Regions from separate parts of the Homo sapiens genome. Here regions 2, 3, 4, 5 and 6 are each linked to region 1. Evidence: promoter capture Hi-C in 16 types of primary human blood cells and fetal thymus (Javierre and others, 2016). All regions are on one chromosome and are shown on one strand. The core of a region is centred on a gene start or on the middle of the fragment in contact, and the rest is flanking DNA. Distances in the headings are between cores, read along the strand shown.

The links. Contacts are between HindIII fragments. The CHiCAGO score rates a contact against its expected background, and 5 or more counts as called.
Region 2: a contact is called between a fragment that was not itself captured here and the fragment with the promoter of RPTOR in region 1, in 1 of 17 cell types (naive CD4 T cells). The highest score is 5.8, in naive CD4 T cells.
Region 3: a contact is called between a fragment that was not itself captured here and the fragment with the promoter of RPTOR in region 1, in 5 of 17 cell types (activated CD4 T cells, naive CD4 T cells, non-activated CD4 T cells and 2 more). The highest score is 6.6, in activated CD4 T cells.
Region 4: a contact is called between the fragment with the promoter of CHMP6 here and the fragment with the promoter of RPTOR in region 1, in 3 of 17 cell types (naive CD4 T cells, megakaryocytes and activated CD4 T cells). The highest score is 5.4, in naive CD4 T cells.
Region 5: a fragment that was not itself captured here is called in contact with the fragment with the promoter of RPTOR in region 1 in 8 of 17 cell types (activated CD4 T cells, total CD4 T cells, naive CD4 T cells and 5 more); the score reaches 10.1 in activated CD4 T cells.
Region 6: a contact is called between a fragment that was not itself captured here and the fragment with the promoter of RPTOR in region 1, in 7 of 17 cell types (naive CD8 T cells, naive CD4 T cells, total CD4 T cells and 4 more). The highest score is 8.1, in naive CD8 T cells.

What each region holds. Positions count from the first base shown.
Region 1 is chr17:80,543,456-80,546,155 of GRCh38, forward strand. It overlaps RPTOR (regulatory associated protein of MTOR complex 1), which reads left to right and starts at 1,383. Exons shown (of 34, transcript NM_020761.3): 1 at 1,383-2,336. The coding sequence starts at 2,175. RefSeq lists enhancers at 1,077-1,903, 1,237-1,596, 1,877-1,976, 1,904-2,700. The HindIII fragment of the contact is 2,750 bases long and covers 1,070-2,700 here.
Region 2 is chr17:80,854,181-80,856,880 of GRCh38, forward strand. It overlaps RPTOR (regulatory associated protein of MTOR complex 1), which reads left to right. Exons shown (of 34, transcript NM_020761.3): 12 at 1,284-1,367. Among named protein-coding and RNA genes, the nearest start is that of CHMP6, 140 kb to the right of the region's middle. RefSeq lists enhancers at 1,065-1,596, 1,597-2,127, 1,790-2,700, 2,309-2,603, 2,340-2,489 and 2 more. The HindIII fragment of the contact is 2,558 bases long and covers 84-2,641 here.
Region 3 is chr17:80,816,148-80,819,070 of GRCh38, forward strand. The region is part of intron 7 of RPTOR (regulatory associated protein of MTOR complex 1); the gene reads left to right. Among named protein-coding and RNA genes, the nearest start is that of CHMP6, 170 kb to the right of the region's middle. The HindIII fragment of the contact is 7,384 bases long and covers 1-2,923 here.
Region 4 is chr17:80,990,565-80,993,264 of GRCh38, forward strand. It overlaps CHMP6 (charged multivesicular body protein 6), which reads left to right and starts at 1,277. Exons shown (of 8, transcript NM_024591.5): 1 at 1,277-1,417. The coding sequence starts at 1,355. RefSeq lists silencers at 1,170-1,499, 1,630-1,779, 1,790-1,979. The HindIII fragment of the contact is 12,121 bases long and covers 1-2,700 here.
Region 5 is chr17:80,925,416-80,928,433 of GRCh38, forward strand. RPTOR (regulatory associated protein of MTOR complex 1) reads left to right here. Exons shown (of 34, transcript NM_020761.3): 24 at 1-65. Among named protein-coding and RNA genes, the nearest start is that of CHMP6, 65 kb to the right of the region's middle. The HindIII fragment of the contact is 946 bases long and covers 891-1,836 here.
Region 6 is chr17:80,875,914-80,878,613 of GRCh38, forward strand. All of the region lies in intron 13 of RPTOR (regulatory associated protein of MTOR complex 1), which reads left to right. Among named protein-coding and RNA genes, the nearest start is that of CHMP6, 110 kb to the right of the region's middle. RefSeq lists enhancers at 1,412-1,461, 2,679-2,700. The HindIII fragment of the contact is 5,418 bases long and covers 1-2,700 here.

The DNA of each region.
Region 1 (2,700 bases), core at 133-2,632:
CGTGCACCACCACGCCTGGCCTCGTTTTATTCTTATTTATTTATTTATTTATTTATTTATTTTTGAGATGGAATCTCACTCTGTCACCCAGGCTGGAATGCAGTGGTGTAATCTCGGCTCACTGCAACCTCTGCCTCCCAGGTTCCAGCTCTTCTCCTGCCTCAGCCTCCCGAGCAGCTGAGACTACAGACGCACGCCACCACGCCCAGCTAATTTTTGTATTTTTATTAGAGACGGCGTTTCACCATGTTGGCCAGGCTGGTCTCGAACTCCTGAACTCGTGATCCACCCTCCTCGGCTTCCCAAAGGGCTAGGATTATAGGCGTGAGCCACGGTGCCCTGCCTACATTTGGTTTTATAGTCCACCTTACACAGTTCTCTATACATTGTAAATGAGCCAAATTTCCTGAATTGAAAAAGAGAGTCACACAAGAGGCTTGCCTCCACGCACAGACATGTAGTTTTAGATGTCTGCACGTGAAGCTATATCAAAATAAGAATAAACTACTGCTACCAAGAAGTGGGAAAAAAATTTAAAAAGGATAAACTGCTCAGAAAACGAAACAGATTAAACAAAAAATTGTATTAGATGAAATTTTTTTTCATCGAATCTTGCTCCAGACTCTTCTTCTGTTGCTTCAGACCCTTCTTCATCTGAAGAGTCTTGCTCTGTCTCCCAGGCTGGAGTGCAGTGGCACGATCTTGGCCCACTGCAACCTCCGCCTCCCGGGTTCAAGCAATTCTCCTGCCTCAGCCTCCTGAGTAGCTGGGATTACAGGCGCGCACCACCACGCCCAGCTAATTTGTGTATTTTTAGTAGGGACGGGGTTTCACCATGTTGGCCAGGCTGGTCTCGATCTCTTGACCTCGTGATCTGCCCGCTTCGGCCTCCCAAAGTGCTGGGATTACAGGCGTGAGCCACGGCGCCCGGCCTTTCACTTGGTTCTCTATGAAAAAATTAAAGAGAAAATCTGATTGACACTGTGGAGGACACTACACTCCAAAAAAAAAAGTACTATATTTTCTAATATTATCAGTGCTTTTTAATATTTTCTAATATTATCAGTGAAGCTTTTGCCGCTTTTTCAAAATCTGGAAGAAACAAGGCGGTTGATTCCTTTAATTTCAGGAGCATGTAACTTCATTTATAATGACAATGTTTTTGAAAAAATAAATTAAACCGACAGTTTCATTTGTAGGATTGACTTTAATAACACGCCTCTACTGAACAAATGGCGATTAACTGGGGAAAACGGAATTATGGTAACCGAGGTAACGGGGTCGGGGACTCTTTCTCCTTCGCTGCATGCTGGGTGGCGGGGAGAGACCGCTCTGAGGAGGTTTGGTCTGTCGGCCACGCCGTAGGCCGCGGTGCATTCTGGGTCCTGGCAATATGGCGTCCTCCTTGATGGGCTGATGAGATGAGTTTCACTGTAGCTCCAAACCAGAGGGCAAAGCTCCCATGACCCAATAAGCCCACATTGTCCCTTTCCTCCGTGGTTCCGTGTCGCCCGTTTCTCAGGACTCGTTCTCAGGCAGGAGAGAGCCTCGGGGCTGAAGGCCAGGACCAGCCAGGCCGCGCGGACCTGAGGTTGAGGAACCGGGTGCAGGCGAGCACGATGGGCCGGTCGTGGCTCTGGTTGCAGCAGCTCAGACGAGTGCGGGACCCGCAGGGCTGAGAGTGGCTGGAGGAGACCCAGGGCCCTTTGAACCCGATCCCTTGGCCGGAGACCTCAGCCCAGTCGGCCCAGTGGGCGAACCGGCACCAAGAGCGGCCTGCCTGTCTTCGGAACTGCTGAGGCGGTGGAGGCCGAGAGCAGGGTCATCGTGAGGCCTGAAGTCTCTTACGCTTTTGGCAGCTCCCCTCGCAGCCCCTCTGGAAACGTACAGCCTCAGGAGCAGCCAGTGGCTTGGGACCTGGGGTGGTGTGTGTCTGCGGAGCTTCTTGGGCTGCCCCATTTCCTAGCGGCCCCCACCTCCCCACTTCCCGCTCAGAGTTAGAGATAAGGATCTCAGACTTTTGCCTGAGTAAGGGTCTCCGCACTCTTTATCCATTTGGTTTTCGATTTCCCGTTTTTGTTTCTTATTTCACCAATTCTGGTACACGCTAGTTTTTAAGGCTGGAGGTTCTCGAGCGCTTGCTGCCAAGGACTCCCCCACCCCCTCCCCCACTGATGGAGTCCGAAATGCTGCAATCGCCTCTTCTGGGCCTGGGGGAGGAAGATGAGGCTGATCTTACAGACTGGAACCTACCTTTGGCTTTTATGAAAAAGAGGCACTGTGAGAAAATTGAAGGCTCCAAATCCTTAGCTCAGAGCTGGAGGATGAAGGATCGGGTAAGTGGATTCTGAAGGCACCCCTTGAACTTGGTAGTTTCCCCAACAAAGAAAGTTTACAGCCCGAAAAGTGTCCTTGGGAAAGCGCCGACATTTCCCCCTAGCCACACGTTGTAAGTCAACTAGAAAGCAAAAGCCATTTCAGACTGCAGTTTTTGGTTGAAAATGGAAAATGCTGTTTTGGTTAGTCATTATTCACTGGGTAGTGTTAATTCAATTCCAACTAAGTTCTAATTCAGATAATAAAAGTTAAGCAAATTTGAAAATAGAGCATTGCGAGTATTTACATGCTCTTTGGCATACTACTTAGTTCTGTAAACACTTAGAGGAAGGACAACGTGCGATATAATCTTTATACCCACAT
Region 2 (2,700 bases), core at 113-2,612, 310 kb after region 1:
CCAAGAAATCCAGATGAAAAGGATGTATTTTCACCTGTCCTTTTGGCTAATAATAGTGTAATATGGGCTAGTATTGTCCCACAAGCTTTAAATTTATTATTTAATTTAATGAAACCCTTGTGGGCAGGTGTTGTGTTATATGTGTTTTATGAATTAATAAATCAAGGCTCAGCGACGTTAACTTGCCCAGAGTCACACCGCAGTGAGCGCTGCTGGGTGACCAGCTCAGGCAGCAGGAAGCTGGTGCCCACGTGCGTGCCGTCGAGAGTGTGAGTGGGTTCAGCCTCAGGGTCATTTGGTAACTTAAGTATATATGCTCCGACCTTACCTTTTTAATACTCACATTTATCTTAGTGGAAAAGAATCATGTACATGTGCCGATGTACCCATTAGGATATTGATCACAATCTTCTTTATCAGAGCAGCATTTTGGCCAGGCATGATGGCCCACGCCTGTAATCCCTACACTTCGGGAGGCTGAAGCGGGAGGGTTGCTTGAGCCAGAAGTTCAAGACCTGCATGGGCAATGTAGTGAGACCCCCATCTCTATAAAAAATACAAAAATTAACCAGGCATGGTGGTACATACCTGCGGTCCTAGCTACTCAGGGTTTGAGGTGGGAGGATCACTTGAGTCCAGGAGGTTGAGGCTGCAGTGAGCCATGATCTGGCATCTATACTCTAGCTTGGGCAACAGAGCAAGACCCTATCTCAAAAATAAATAAATAAAAATGGTAAAAGTAGGAACATTTTGATGATAATTTAAATATCTATCACTGGGGAAGTTGTTTAAAAGAATTGTGTACATTTGCATAACGGAAGTACTGTGCCGCCTTTGGGAATAATATGGTCAGTACATACCTACTGATATGAACAATGTTCACAGTGCATTGTTTAGTTTAAAAAGGAGCTGAGAAATAGAATCACATATTATCTAGTTCAAGATCAGTAAGAGAAGTGTGGACATAAAGAACAATGTCTGAGTTCATATACCTAAATGTCACCAGTGGGTTAGCTTTTTAAATGCAATTAAAGCATGTTTGTTCTAGTATTTTCTACATTGAGCATCTTTTATCTGTGTAATAAAGGCATAAAGCGTGTTTTCTTCACCTGTCTAAAAGCATGAACTTGTAAGGAAAGGAGCACCAGCTCTAGGTAACTGAAGCAGCAGACAGATCTGAACTGTGGTCAGACCGCTCCAAAGCTGGCAGCTCATGCAGCAGCGTTTCGGGGTTGCACACCAGTATGGTTTGCAGTGATACCATTTTCTTCTTGTTCTTCCAGGTGCTGTTAAGCCAAGTGCACCGGCTGAGAGCATTGGACTTGCTTGGAAGATTTTTGGACCTGGGTCCCTGGGCAGTGAGCCTGGTGCGTGCCTTCCGCATTAACCTGGGGGCTGAGGGAGGTGGGACAGAGATTAGGCTCCGTGTTTCAGTCTGTGCACGTATTTCATGATCCAGAGCCACCCCCAGCCGTGAGACCCAGGGCGAGTGTGTCCACCGTGTTGGTGTCCTGTCACTCCTGAGGCCCTCAAGGAGCCCACTCTGTACCCGTGCAGCCTGCAGTGCTGCCTGGCGTTTGGGGGTCTGGGGTTGTCGCCCCTCTTTATGTCTGATGTTAGACATAGGAGTGAGTGTGTTGTCGGCCGGTCACCTTTTCCTGAGCCGCCCCCAGCGCTGCGGAGGAGCAGGGCGCCCCTGAGCCTGACGCAGCACCCACCTCGTGGTGCTGCTTCCCCCAGGAGGAGTCTGGATCCTCAGCACTGTCTGCTCACCATCATGGCAGGCACAATTCGGAAACGCTCTTCTGGTTCCTCATTCTATAGCAGAGTAGTAATGGCCACTAAAAACACCCTGGCAGAGGCAGGATCAAGAAGCGACGTGCGTTTAACAAATAACTCACAGGGAAAGTAAAAGGAGGCTGAGAGGGAACCACAGAGTCAAGGAAACTCGAGAGACCTATGGCCAGCTGCCATGTACAGTAAACCTTACTTGGTTCTGTTGAAGTTCCAAAAATGAATACTCATAAAACAATTAGAAATTTTACAGGTGCTGGATTTATGTTATTCAAGAATCATTGTTCGTTTTTCTTGGGTGTGGTAACTGGATCATGTTTTTATAAAAGAGACCTAATTTTTTAGAGATAGACACTGAATATTCACCAATGAAATCACATGACATATGAGCCTTAATTTACTGTGCTTGGGAGCGGTGCGGTGGGGCGGTGGGTGCGGAACCGCTGTCACTAGCTGGGTGGTGAGTACCTGGGTTTGGTGTATTTAAGTATTTTCATCAGATAATGTTGACAAAGAGTGGTAATTGATAGTCCAGCACTGAAGGACGAGAGAAAACATCCAAAACTTGGAAGAATCATTCAGCACTCACCACTGGGCCATTTTCACTCCAGGTGCCTGAGGCCACAAATAGCTTGTAACAGAGTCAGGGCCTGAGTCATCGGAGGAAGGCTGGCGTGACTCGGTCACTTGGTGTGTGCGTGGTGGTGTCGCTTAGTCATCCTGGAAAGGCCTGCGTGGTATTGCGTGCACTCTAAGAAGACAGGAAGCATGTATTCATAACAGTTTAGAAAGAGTTTCATTTTTAAGGTTAATTTTTTAAAACCAGTTTCTTCCCTTTAAAGAATTAAGCTTCTGCTCATTGGAAATTTGCCTAATACATGAATCGAGGCTGGATAAACGAGGTAT
Region 3 (2,923 bases), core at 38-2,537, 270 kb after region 1:
TCAGTGGAGAACCTTGTATGTTTGGGGGCCCAGCTGTGTGTTAAGAGCCATCAGCCTGTGTAGCGTGAGCCAGGGCAGAAGGGCCTGGCCCGAGAATGCTGTCTGGACGCCTGGCAGGCCTGGCTGCAGGGTGCCGCAGAGGAGGTGGGAAGAGGCATCTTTGGGAGGCCTGGCTGGCCCCAGTGCAGGACCAGAGAGCAGCTGAGGGCCTGGGGCCTCCGGGGTTTCGAGCCTCAGTGAAACGCGAATCCACAGGGACTCTTGGAGTGGGGACCAGCAGTGGAGAAGATGGAGGCATTGCACTTGATTTTACACACGTTCCGCTTGAGCTGTGATGCCAGGCAAGCCGAGGGTGAAGGGAAGCGCCTTGTCGTGAGACCTGGAAGGAGCAGGGCTGCCGCTGGAGCAGATCCTGGGGTGTGAAAAGAGCTGGCGACGCAGTGCTCCCAGAGGTCACTAAGGGAGGAGCCGGGTGCCAGGGGAGAGACAGTCAGGATTTGCAGATTCAGCAAATGAAGAAAGGCAAGGCTGGCCAGCCACTGGAGTGAGGGGGCTTGGGAGGAGGTGGCTTGGAAGGGCGGTGAGGACAGAAACCAGCTTTCGCATGGCAGGTAAGAGGAGCCTACGGGGGCCAAGGAGAGCTTAGCTAGTGCCAGCTTCAGGGCCACATGGGTTTTCCCCAGGGTAGACAGGCATAAGGCCCCAGCGGCCACTGCATGTTGAGCCCCAGCAGCCAGTGGTCTCCCCGGCCCATCCCTGGTCCTCCCATTCCTGCGAGGCGGCTGCGGGGTCTGGGTCTGGTTTCTGCCACTTGTCTCTAGTGGAAGACACACCCTCATAGAGCCTCAGTTTCTCCATCTGAAAAGCAAGTGAACATAAGACCTGCCTGGCGTGGGCATTGGGAAGGAAGTCTTGGTGGACTTGGCAGGTGGGTGACTTGGGGGCCTGGGTCCACCGAGCCGCACAGCGGGAGGCACGGCATGAGTGCCCAGCTGGCAGCGGTGGTGGAGGTAGTGTAAATGTTCATGCTGAAGAAAATCCAAGCCTCTGAGAGGCTGGGCAGCTAGTCCACAGTCACAGAGCCAGTCTCTGGCCAAATTCAAGCCCCCGTCTGTCTGGCTCCCAAGTTTAGGCCTGGAAGTGAAGGAAAAGGAAGGCTGGGGGTTCTGCAGGGGAGACATCCTGATGACCTCACAGCCCCTTGTCCTTGTCCTCTGCATGGATGGGGCCAGGGACGGCAGTGAGGCGGCCACCCCATGGGGAGGAGATCATGTGTTGCGTCTCCTGAGTGCAGACGGAGCTGAAGGCGCCCCCGAGAATCCAGGTGAGAGCAGGAACCTGGAGAGACTGGGAGGCAAGCACCTGCCACGTGGGCACCTGTGAGTGAACCGGGGAGGGACAGGGCCCCAAGGAGTGGGTGGCACCTCATGCTGGAAGTGGGGAGCAGGCAGAGTGATGGGGCAAATGACAGGGAGCCGGGCAGGTCCGGGAGAAGGGGTGGGGGAGGGAGCACCCTTGGGAGAGTGACTGTGATGGGCTGTGATCCCTCAGGCATCTGGTGGAGAATCAAAGGCGAGGGCTGGAGACACAGCAGCTCTTGTTGAGTGACAAGTTCCCAGCAGAGGGTGGTGGTGGGGACAGCCAGGGGTGTCAGGGAAGAAGAAGGGGCCTTAGGGGAAGGGCACCTGCTTGGCATTTCGGAGCTGGCCTGGCACTCTACAGTGGTTGCACAAATGGGGTGTGGATGCTGAAGTTCTGCCAGAGTCTAGCAGGGCCGGGGTCATCATGATGACCTGGATGTTGCAGTAAGGAAGATAAATCCTGGCAAGAAACCGCATGCCACAGGTGAGCCCGGAAGTGTGGGGGAAGGTGGAGATAAACCCTCCTGCCAATGGCAGTGAAGGAGAGTTTGAGGAGGCGCGGGCCCTGTTGGGGGGCCACCCCGGCATCTGCCACATCTGTTGTTGGAGTGTCATCTGTTTTATTTTAGTCGCCATTTTGCATCAGGGTCAGCTGTGTTGACTCAGCAGAGAAACAGGTACCACGAGTCATCCAGCCATAGCACGGCTGGGACCAGCGCTTGAGTTTTCTTGTCTCCCAATTCAGGAGTCTTTTCCTGAACTGTAGCTTTTTACAGTTTTCACATAGAAGTCCTTGATTAACACTCTGAATTTAAATTTTAAAAGAGCCACCTTGATCATTAACCCTTTGAGGGTTCAGAGAAACTTCTAGAATGAAACATGGTCTGACATGGACAACATACACCAATAGGCTTCTTCTGTGGTCCCCTCGTGATCTCAGTGGCCTCCCGAGTTGGGCAAGACTCAGCATTGGTTAGGATCAGGTACAGAAAGGAAATCAGAAACAAATCGTTTCTGCAAGGATTTAATTTTATGTGACGTGAAAAGTGAGGGATGCTGGACTCGGTTCCACCTTGTCACCCCCAGTAGGACCAGGCCTGCTGGATCAAGAAGCCTCATCAGCTTTTGCTCACTGGATGGTTGGTTCATCGACTTGAATGATTTCTGGGTCTGTCTGAAGTCGGCTGGGCAGATGACTCTGTCTGGTTTCACGATGAGCTTAGGGAAGAGACCAGTGGGATTTTCAGGACCATGTTGGGAGAGTCTAGCTTTGCATTTATTTACTGGTGATCATCACAAGATACCAATTTGTAAAAACACAACTAAGTACACACTGGTCCTATCTGGCCTCCGTTTATCTTGATGGCTTGGCCATCCAGTGACAGTGCTGGGGTGTGGGACCTCGTGGGAAGCTCTTTGCTGCTCAGAATGCAGCTTTCTGTTAACCAGTGGTCACAGACTCGGGAACAGCAGGGGCTCTATGAGCTTCAGTCGATTCAGGATACGTGGGCTCACGTTAGGGATGTGTTTAGTCCTGGTTTGCAAACAGCCTGCGGGCAAAT
Region 4 (2,700 bases), core at 27-2,526, 450 kb after region 1:
TTTTTTTTTCCTCAACGTCCCCATGGACACCAAGGAAAAAAGTACTTCAGATGTCTTGGTGAGACAAATCAGAGGGTGGGAGATGAACCCCACAAAAATTCAGGGGCCCCCTCACCTCAGTGAAGGTTCTGGAGTCCAGAGGTTTGGAACAGGTGATAATTATTCTCCTTTTGATGTTATTTGTTATATTTTTTGTAGAGACGGGGGTCTTGCTATGTTGCCAGGCTGGTCTTGAACTCCTGGCCTCAAGCCATCCTCAGCTGAGTGCTTTTCTTTGACACTTAGTGAATGCTCAGGAACCACAGTCAGGATACTCAGGCGGGAACCGGGGTGGCTTCTCCCTTTTACCCTTTATCCCCATTCATGTGTTTCTTAGCCCCCCAGGGAAGAATGCTTCTGTGGGGGACGCAGCCACGATTCCTTGGAAGGAGAAGCTGAGCCCAGCCATGCTGGTCTCCTCCTGGCACTGATCTACAGACAGGGAGCAGCGCAGTGGAAGAGGGAAGATCCCAGGGCTGAAAGGCTGGGTGGAGGGCGCTGCTGGTCGCATTTCAGGGAACATTTTAAAGTGCAAAGCGGGCCGGGTGCGGCGGCTCACGCCTGTCATCCCAGCACTTTGGGAGCCCGAGGTGGGTGGATCAGAAGGTCAGGAGCTCAAGGCCAGCCTGGCCAATATGGTGAAACCCCGTCTCTACTAACAAACATTAGCCGGGTGTGGCAGCAGGCACCTGTAGTCCCAGCTACTCAGGAGGCTGAAGCAGGAAAATCACTTGAACCCGGGAGGCAGAGTTTGTAGTGAGCCGAGATAGCGCCCCTGCACTCCACCCTGGGCGACAGAGCAGGACTCCATCTAAAAAAAAAAAAAAAAAAAAAAGTGCAAAACGTTGGATATCACATCATTAATGCGGCATTTTGTGTTCAGAGCCAGTGGGACAGTGATTCCTGCACAAGATTCCTGAAAGCCTGGGGAGACTGAATTATGTTAATCTAAAAGGATCCCACCTAATTAGGAGATAAGAAATTTTTGCCTTCACCTGCACAGGAAGGGTGCACGGAAACACGTCATTTAGAACATCCCGGGCCCGAACATCGCGGGCCCTAACATCCAGGTATCCGTGCCACTTCTCCGTACCGGTCCAAGGAGGCCGCGGTGTTCGCGGCGGTCGCCGAGACCGGCGGGCTGTGGTTTCGAACCCGCGGCAACGGCGCGCGGCCGGAGGCGGCGCTCGGCCTTCGCGTTCCGCGGCGCCTGGCCCGGCGCGGCCGCCGTAGCGGGAGGACCCGAGCTACGGTGGCCGCGGGGCGGCGGTGGCGATTGGACTTGGTGGGTCCCGGGCCAGGGGCGGGCGCCGCCATGGGTAACCTGTTCGGCCGCAAGAAGCAGAGCCGCGTCACGGAGCAGGACAAGGCCATCCTGGTGAGGGCCCGGGCCCGGGGTCAGGGCTGGGGCCGGGACAGGCGACGGGGCCGGGGCGGGCGGCGGGGCCGGAAGAGCCCCGCGCCCTCGGCCCCCCGCGTTCGGATGGGGAAACTGAGGCGCAGCGCGCAGCCGGGCCCCTCGGTCTCTCCGCCCTGCGTCCCTCCTCGCCCGCGGGGCCTCGGGCCGGGGTCTCCTGCGCGGCGCCGTGGCTGCCGTCTTCCCCGGGGCCCGCGCGTCCGCCTCTGCGAGCCCCGCCGGGGTGGGCGCGGCTGGTGACTGCGGGATTCGACGCCGGCGTTCGGGGCTCGGCCACAGCCTGGCGGCCCGTCCGTGGGGTCCGCGCGGCGCTGGGCTTTCCCTGGCTCTGGGCCCGCGGGAGCAGGTCCCGGCTCTCCCGGAGTCGCTGCCCCCGCCCCCGTCCCGCGGCTCATTTGCCTCCTGGTGCCCTGGGCCGGAGCCCCGGCGGTGCTGCCGGCTTCGCGAGGCAGCGCGGGGCATCCCCTCTCCCTCACCCCATCCAGGCCAGGACTGGAAGGAAGTCTGCCCTGGTCCGAGGAGCGGCCGACAGGTGCGCCGAACGCCTGCCGGGGTCCTGCCGGGGTCCTGCCGGGCTTCCGCAGCGCCTGGGTACGGGACCACCGTGTTTGGCGCGTTTGTTTGCGGCGACTCCAGACTGACCCCCCGGGGCACAGCCGGGCCGGTGGTGGTGCCTTTTCCCATGTGAAAGTTAGCTTCTGTAGGAGGAGGAATCGCCTGGCATGTCAGGGACAGGGCGGGTTAAGAATAGTCCATTTTTGTAACGAGATAAACGTGTCACGAAAGAGACCCCGAAATGAAAGCAGGGCTAGCTTTTTCGGATGCTTTCTTTTCTAAATTTTGTGCAACAGAAATAGGTTAATTTTATACTAAAAGAGAAGCGAATGTAAATGAAAGAGGGAATCTTACGTTGGCATCTGAGTCCATAAGCTGTGAAAAGAAACAACGGGCACATTTGTCCCTAGAGAAGATGGGCACAGCGCTGGGCACCGTCCCGAGCTGCCTGCAAGACAGCTGGACCCAGCCTCCATCGTCCACCTTCCACCTACCCTGCCAGCCCCAAGGCACTCCCTCCCCTCTCTTTAAGGACTCAGCTCCGGTTTCTCTTCAAGCACAGCTTTCCACTTGCCAAGGGTCACTGTGGGCTCTCGGCTGTGCAGACCCGTGTTGCGGGCTGCCGTAGGTCTCCCTGGGATTTTGGGTGCTTGGGAACAGCATCCTTAGCACACACTAGCACAAATGAT
Region 5 (3,018 bases), core at 114-2,613, 380 kb after region 1:
CCGCCACGGTGCAGACGGGGTTCTGCGACTGGAGCGCCCGCTATTTTGCCCAGCCCGTCATGAAGGTGCGCCCGGGGTGTGGGGTTCAGAGTAGAGTCCTAGCGAACATGTGTCTGTCCCACTTCTTTGAGCATAAACGCTCAAGGCTTGTGGCTGTGGGAGCGTCCCATTGTGGTCGTGGTAGTGATGGTCACGGTTGAGGTAGAACCGCAGAAGAAACAAACTTCACTTACCTTCCTGTCGCCAAACGAAAAGAGAAAACCTGCCTCGCTGGAGCTTCCCAGTGTGACAGGTGTCACTTTGCCTTAACTGACAGGGTCACCACAGGCCTTCCCACTCCCTAATGGTGAGGATCACTCGAGGCCCATCCCAAGGCCACGCTTGCGTGGCTCCGAGGTCTGGGGACTGTTAGACGCAGCCTGCTGCAGCCAATCCTAGCGCATTTGGGGTTACACCACAAGACCATCTCTGAGGCTCAACCCTGACACAGCCCTAACAAGCGCCGTGTGCTGTGGACGCAGTGGCTGTGTTCCTGCAGGCTGGGGCAGGGCGGCGGCTCTCGGCCTCTTCGAGGAATGGGGCGGGAGCTGCTTTGTCAGCACAGTCCCAGTGCTCATCTCTCTGCCAGGGCCCAGCAGGGACTCGTGGAGATTTTCTATAAATCTAAAGTGCATTCTGAGCAAACCTGCCTCTTCCCTCATATATAATTGAAAGCTGAAACTCTCAGCTTATTCTCGATTGTATATCAAGCTTGCGTCTTAGTCATCTCTGTGAATGGTATTTGGACCCCATGACAGCTCAGTCCCTGTGGTCCTGTCTTCATAGTGAATGCTGATTTCTGTTCATAAAAACAGAACCATCAGGCAGCCCCTGAGGCAGGCAAGCCATGAAGCTTGAACTACGGAGCCCCTTTACTGCAAAGAGAGAGGAGTTCGCCTCCCTCTTCTCACATGAACCTGGGTGGACAGTGGCCTGGCTGTTCTAGAAAGCGTCTTGCCGGGAAGCATCAAACGCCTTAAATAGCCGTTCCCTTTGACCCAGTCATGAATCTGCTAAAATACTGTCTTGAGAAAATAATCAGAGATGTAGATGACTTCCGTGTTGTTTCTAAGAACGAAAATTGAGATTCACTTAAATGTCCACAGAGGGTGAATAGTTAAAAAGTTATGAAATATTTGATGAGATATTATTGGAGCTACTGAAAAGTTAAACATTAAAAATAGTGTCCTAAGGAAGCGCTCATGACAACATTCCTTAAAAAGAAAAAATGCAAAATGCAGACCAAGAAGCCAGATTTACAGAACAATCACAGCCGTGCTTCTCATACAGACACAGATGTGCATACGACGGAGACCAGCAGAGCCCGCTCCTAACTAGAGATTCGCAAATGGCGCCACCCACGACTGCACTGAATTGGGCTTCTTTTGTGCCTCTTCTGCAGTTTCTACACTAAGCACGAAGCACCTTTAGAGTCGGGGGAAAAGAATCAAAGAAACAAACCCCAGGAGATCATTGAGGCTGGTGGATTCAGTCCTAGTCAGAAGCCCCTCACCAGGCCCACCTGCTGGGCTCACCGCTGCTTACCTGCGGGTGGCATGAGGGTGGCGGCCCCTGCAGACAGAGGGAAGTGCCCCTTCCCATCACTAGGAGGCTTCTGGTTAGGAAAGGAAAGCATACACAAATCCTGGAATTGGATGCAGGAAGCAGGAGCCACCCAAACTCTGAGTGAGCCAGAGCTGGGAGGTGGCTGGACACTGTGCCAGGGGTGCCAGGCCGTCCTCTAGAACTGCGGCCCAGTCTGTTGAAAAGTCAATGGAATTTAGTCTAATGTTAACAAGCTTGGTGTCCTTGATGCGGTCTCGTGCTTAAGGCAGACAAGGTCAGGCGACTAAGAAACCCACATGGTCTGGTCTTCGCTCTTGCTGGGATGGCAGTGGCTGTACATGTTGGTAATTTCTTGGTGTGATAACGAGAGGCTTTTCTTGAAGTCCTTGAAAAATGCCTATTCTCAGTCATCTATCCTATGATGAAAGAGGAATGGCATAGATAATCCAAAACTCATTGCTCTTAAACTTAAAAATGAATTTGACTTTTCCCCAAAGGATTTGCTTTCCTTTCCTAAGCATTTTTAAGTACACAGCAGCTGATTGCAGGAGGAAGTTCCCCAGAGGCATGTGGAAGGCCGTGTGTGTGTCTGTCTGTCTGTCTGTCTGTCTGTCTCTATGTGTGTGTGTGTATCCCTGTGTCTGTCTGTGTGATGTGTGTGTGTATCTCTGTATGTGTGTATGTGTATCTCGTGTGTGTGTCTGTGTGTTTCTGTGTGTCTGTGTGTGTGTGTCTATTTGTTCCGGTGTGTGCAAGCCCCAAGCCAGCGTCTCCTCTCCCTTTCTTCAGATTAGCAGCCCCTCCTCCGCCTGCCCTCATCTCCTCCATTTGCACATCTGAGAATTCCCGCCCGCACGGAGGAGCTGGAGGGTGTCAGCCTTGTGGTCTGGCCCTGCCAGCAGGTCCTGCTGTGTGGACACTGCAGAGGAGATTAGTCCAAGGGGATCCATGTAGGAGCTGCCATCACACAGGAGGTTGATCAGGAAACGGTTGCTGAATGAGTAAATGATTGTCTTCCTCTGCCCCTGCCAAGTATTTGAAAACAAATGCTCACTTGGTTGTCGTTGAAACAACAGGCTCTGGGTGTCATGATGGAAAAGAGCGCCGTGTTGTGGTCGGCGTCGTCTGTAACTCCTGATAGCAACTGCAGTCTTAGGAGTGTCTTTAACATTAGAGACCTTTTCCAAACTTCAGAAGAGGAAGCAGGACGTGTTTTCTCTTGTTTAAAAAAAAAATTGTTTTCCTACTTTTTCTAGGTGGTATTCATAAAGGTATTCTTTTACTGATTTAATTCATCATCTAATGACATTTGTGTAACGAGCTGCATTAGGAACTTCTTGTTATTAGCCTGCTTCACATGTAAACTAAAAATAGCTCTAAGGCTAGGATTGAACCTAAAAAAGAACAGAAGAA
Region 6 (2,700 bases), core at 138-2,637, 330 kb after region 1:
ACCGAGCCCGTGCCGCCCAGGATGTGTGTGTCACCTGCTGGGTCTTCACACCGAGCCCATGCCACGCAGGGTGTGTGTGTCACCTGCCAGGTCTTCCACCGAGCCCGTGCCGCCCAGGATGTGTGTGTCACCTGCTGGGTCTTCACACCGAGCCCGTGCCACGCAGGGTGTGTGTGTCACCTGCCGGGTCTTCCACCGAGCCCGTGCTGCCCAGGATGTGTGTGTCACCTGCCGGGTCTTCCACCGAGCCCGTGCCACGCAGGGTGTGTGTGTCGCCTGCCGTGTCTTCCCACCGAACCCGTGCCACGCAGGGTGTGTGTGTCGCCTGCCGGGTCTTCCACCGAGCCCGTGCCACGCAGGGTGTGTGTGTCGCCTGCCGGGTCTTCACACCGAGCCCGTGCCACGCAGGGTGTGTGTGTCGCCTGCCGGGTCTTCCACCGAGCCCGTGCCACGCAGGGTGTGTGTGTCGCCTGCCGTGTCTTCCCACCGAGCCCGTGCCACGCAGGGTGTGTGTGTCGCCTGCCGTGTCTTCCCACCGAGCCCGTGCCACGCAGGGTGTGTGTGTCGCCTGCCGTGTCTTCCCACCGAGCCCGTGCCACGCAGGGTGTGTGTGTCGCCTGCCGTGTCTTCCCACCGAGCCTGTGCCACGCAGGGTGTGTGTGTCGCCTGCCGGGTCTTCCACCAAGCCCCTCCGCCCAGGATGTGTGTGTCGCCTGCTGGGTCTTCACACCGAGCCCGTGCCACGCAGGGTGTGTGTGTCGCCTGCCGGGTCTTCCACCAAGCCCCTCCACCCAGGATGTGTGTGTCGCCTGCCGGGTCTTCCACCGAGCCCGTGCCACGCAGGGTGTGTGTGTCGCCTGCCGGGTCTTCCACCGAGCCCGTGCCACACAGGGTGTGTGTGTCGCCTGCCGGGTCTTCCACCGAGCCCGTGCCACACAGGGTGTGTGTGTCGCCTGCTGGGTTTTCCACCGAGCCTGTGCCATGCAGGGTGTGTGTGTCGCCTGCCGGGTCTTCCCACCGAGCCCGTGCCACTCAGGGTGTGTGTGTCGCCTGCCGGGTCTTCCACCGAGCCCGTGCCATGCAGGGTGTGTGTGTCGCCTGCTGGGTCTTCCCACCGAGCCCGTGCCGCCCAGGATGTGTGTGTGTCGCCTGCTGGGTCTTCCCACTGAGCCCGTGCCACGCAGGGAGTGTGTGTTGCCTGCTGGCTGCCGTTCTGCGCGTGTGTGGTTTCAAGTCTTGTTTCCTCTTCTGTTTAACGAGGCCCTTGGTCTAAGTGTGCTTGTAATTTGGGCGAGTGAGCAGCAGCCGAGAGAGTCCACCCCAGTCCCCCTAGCCAGCGAAGTGGGAGCTCCCAGGTTCCTGCCTGCGGGGAGGGTGGGGGCGGTTTGAGTTAGTGAAAATGTGTGTATTAAACAGATATGTAAATGACCCCTGCCGAGCGCTGAAAATGAAGGTATGAAAAGGCATCATCATCCGTGGTTCCCACCTGGCATAATGACCGTATCAGAACAGACATCTGGTAGTATACACCACATAGTTGCCAGACTCCGATACCAAGGGCACATCTAAGTTCTCCCACCCTGATTTGCATGCCTCAAATTCAGAATTAGTGAGATTTGAGTCAGTGATGCTTCATTACACTCTCGTGAGACATGTTTGAGGAGCTTCACCGTGAATGTGTGGGCTTCGATTTGACTTGTGGAACCTGTGGTTAAAACAAAGGAAGGTGCCTTCATTCTCAGAACCCAGTGCTTTTTCTGTTGCCCTGGCCCTCTGGGCTGAGTCTTTACGTGGACGGCGGTCGATGCATCTCAGTTTATTTGTCAAAACCTTCAGCTAAAGCCAGTTGTTGCTTGAAAACTGCCTGCTTAATTGGCCTCCTCAGCTCGGGGGAGCAGCTTGCAATCTGAGGCCGGCGCCTGGCTCCCTGACCACCCGCTCCCCATCGTGCTCAGCTCTCATTCCAGCAGCCCAGCCCATAACCCGCCTCATCAGTGTATTGATGTGAGGCAGAAACACCTCATTGTAAGAGCACCCCTGAGAAATGGCGGGGTTAGGGGCTTCTGGGCTGCATAACCAGCAGATTCCCTCTGCAAAACTGCTCCTGCCTCAGTGGGAAAGGGCCAGCTGTGCAGGGCTGCACTGGAGAGCCGTTCTCTTCTTGATCCTCAGGCATCCAGTTCTTAAAATTCCGGCCCTCTGTCCTTGCATGGCCTTCGTCCTCTGGAAAGGAGCATGCTGGGAGCTGGCAGAACGCACGCCTCACTCTGTCGATGCAGTGTCTGTCACTGCTCAGTTTCTAGGTATTGATCCTAGAAACCCATGCTCTGTGGGTCCCTCTCCAAGAAACACAGCATCCATGATTTGTACATCGCACTGCAGTTTCAGACTGCTTTCACATGCGTGGTTTCATCTCTGACTCCACGACCTGAGCACAGATTTTTTTTTTTTGAGACGTAGTCTTGCTCTGTCGCCCAGGCTGGAATGCAGTGGTGCGATCTCAGCTCACTACAGCCTCCGCCTCCCAGGTTCCAGCGATTCTCCTGCCTCAGCCTCCCGAGTAGCTGGGACTACAGGCACGCACCACCACACCCTGCTAATTTTTGTATTTTTTAGTAGAGACAGGATTTCACCATATTGGCCAGGCTGGTCTCGAACTCCTGACCTTGTGACCCGCCTGTCTCAGCCTCCCAAAGTGCT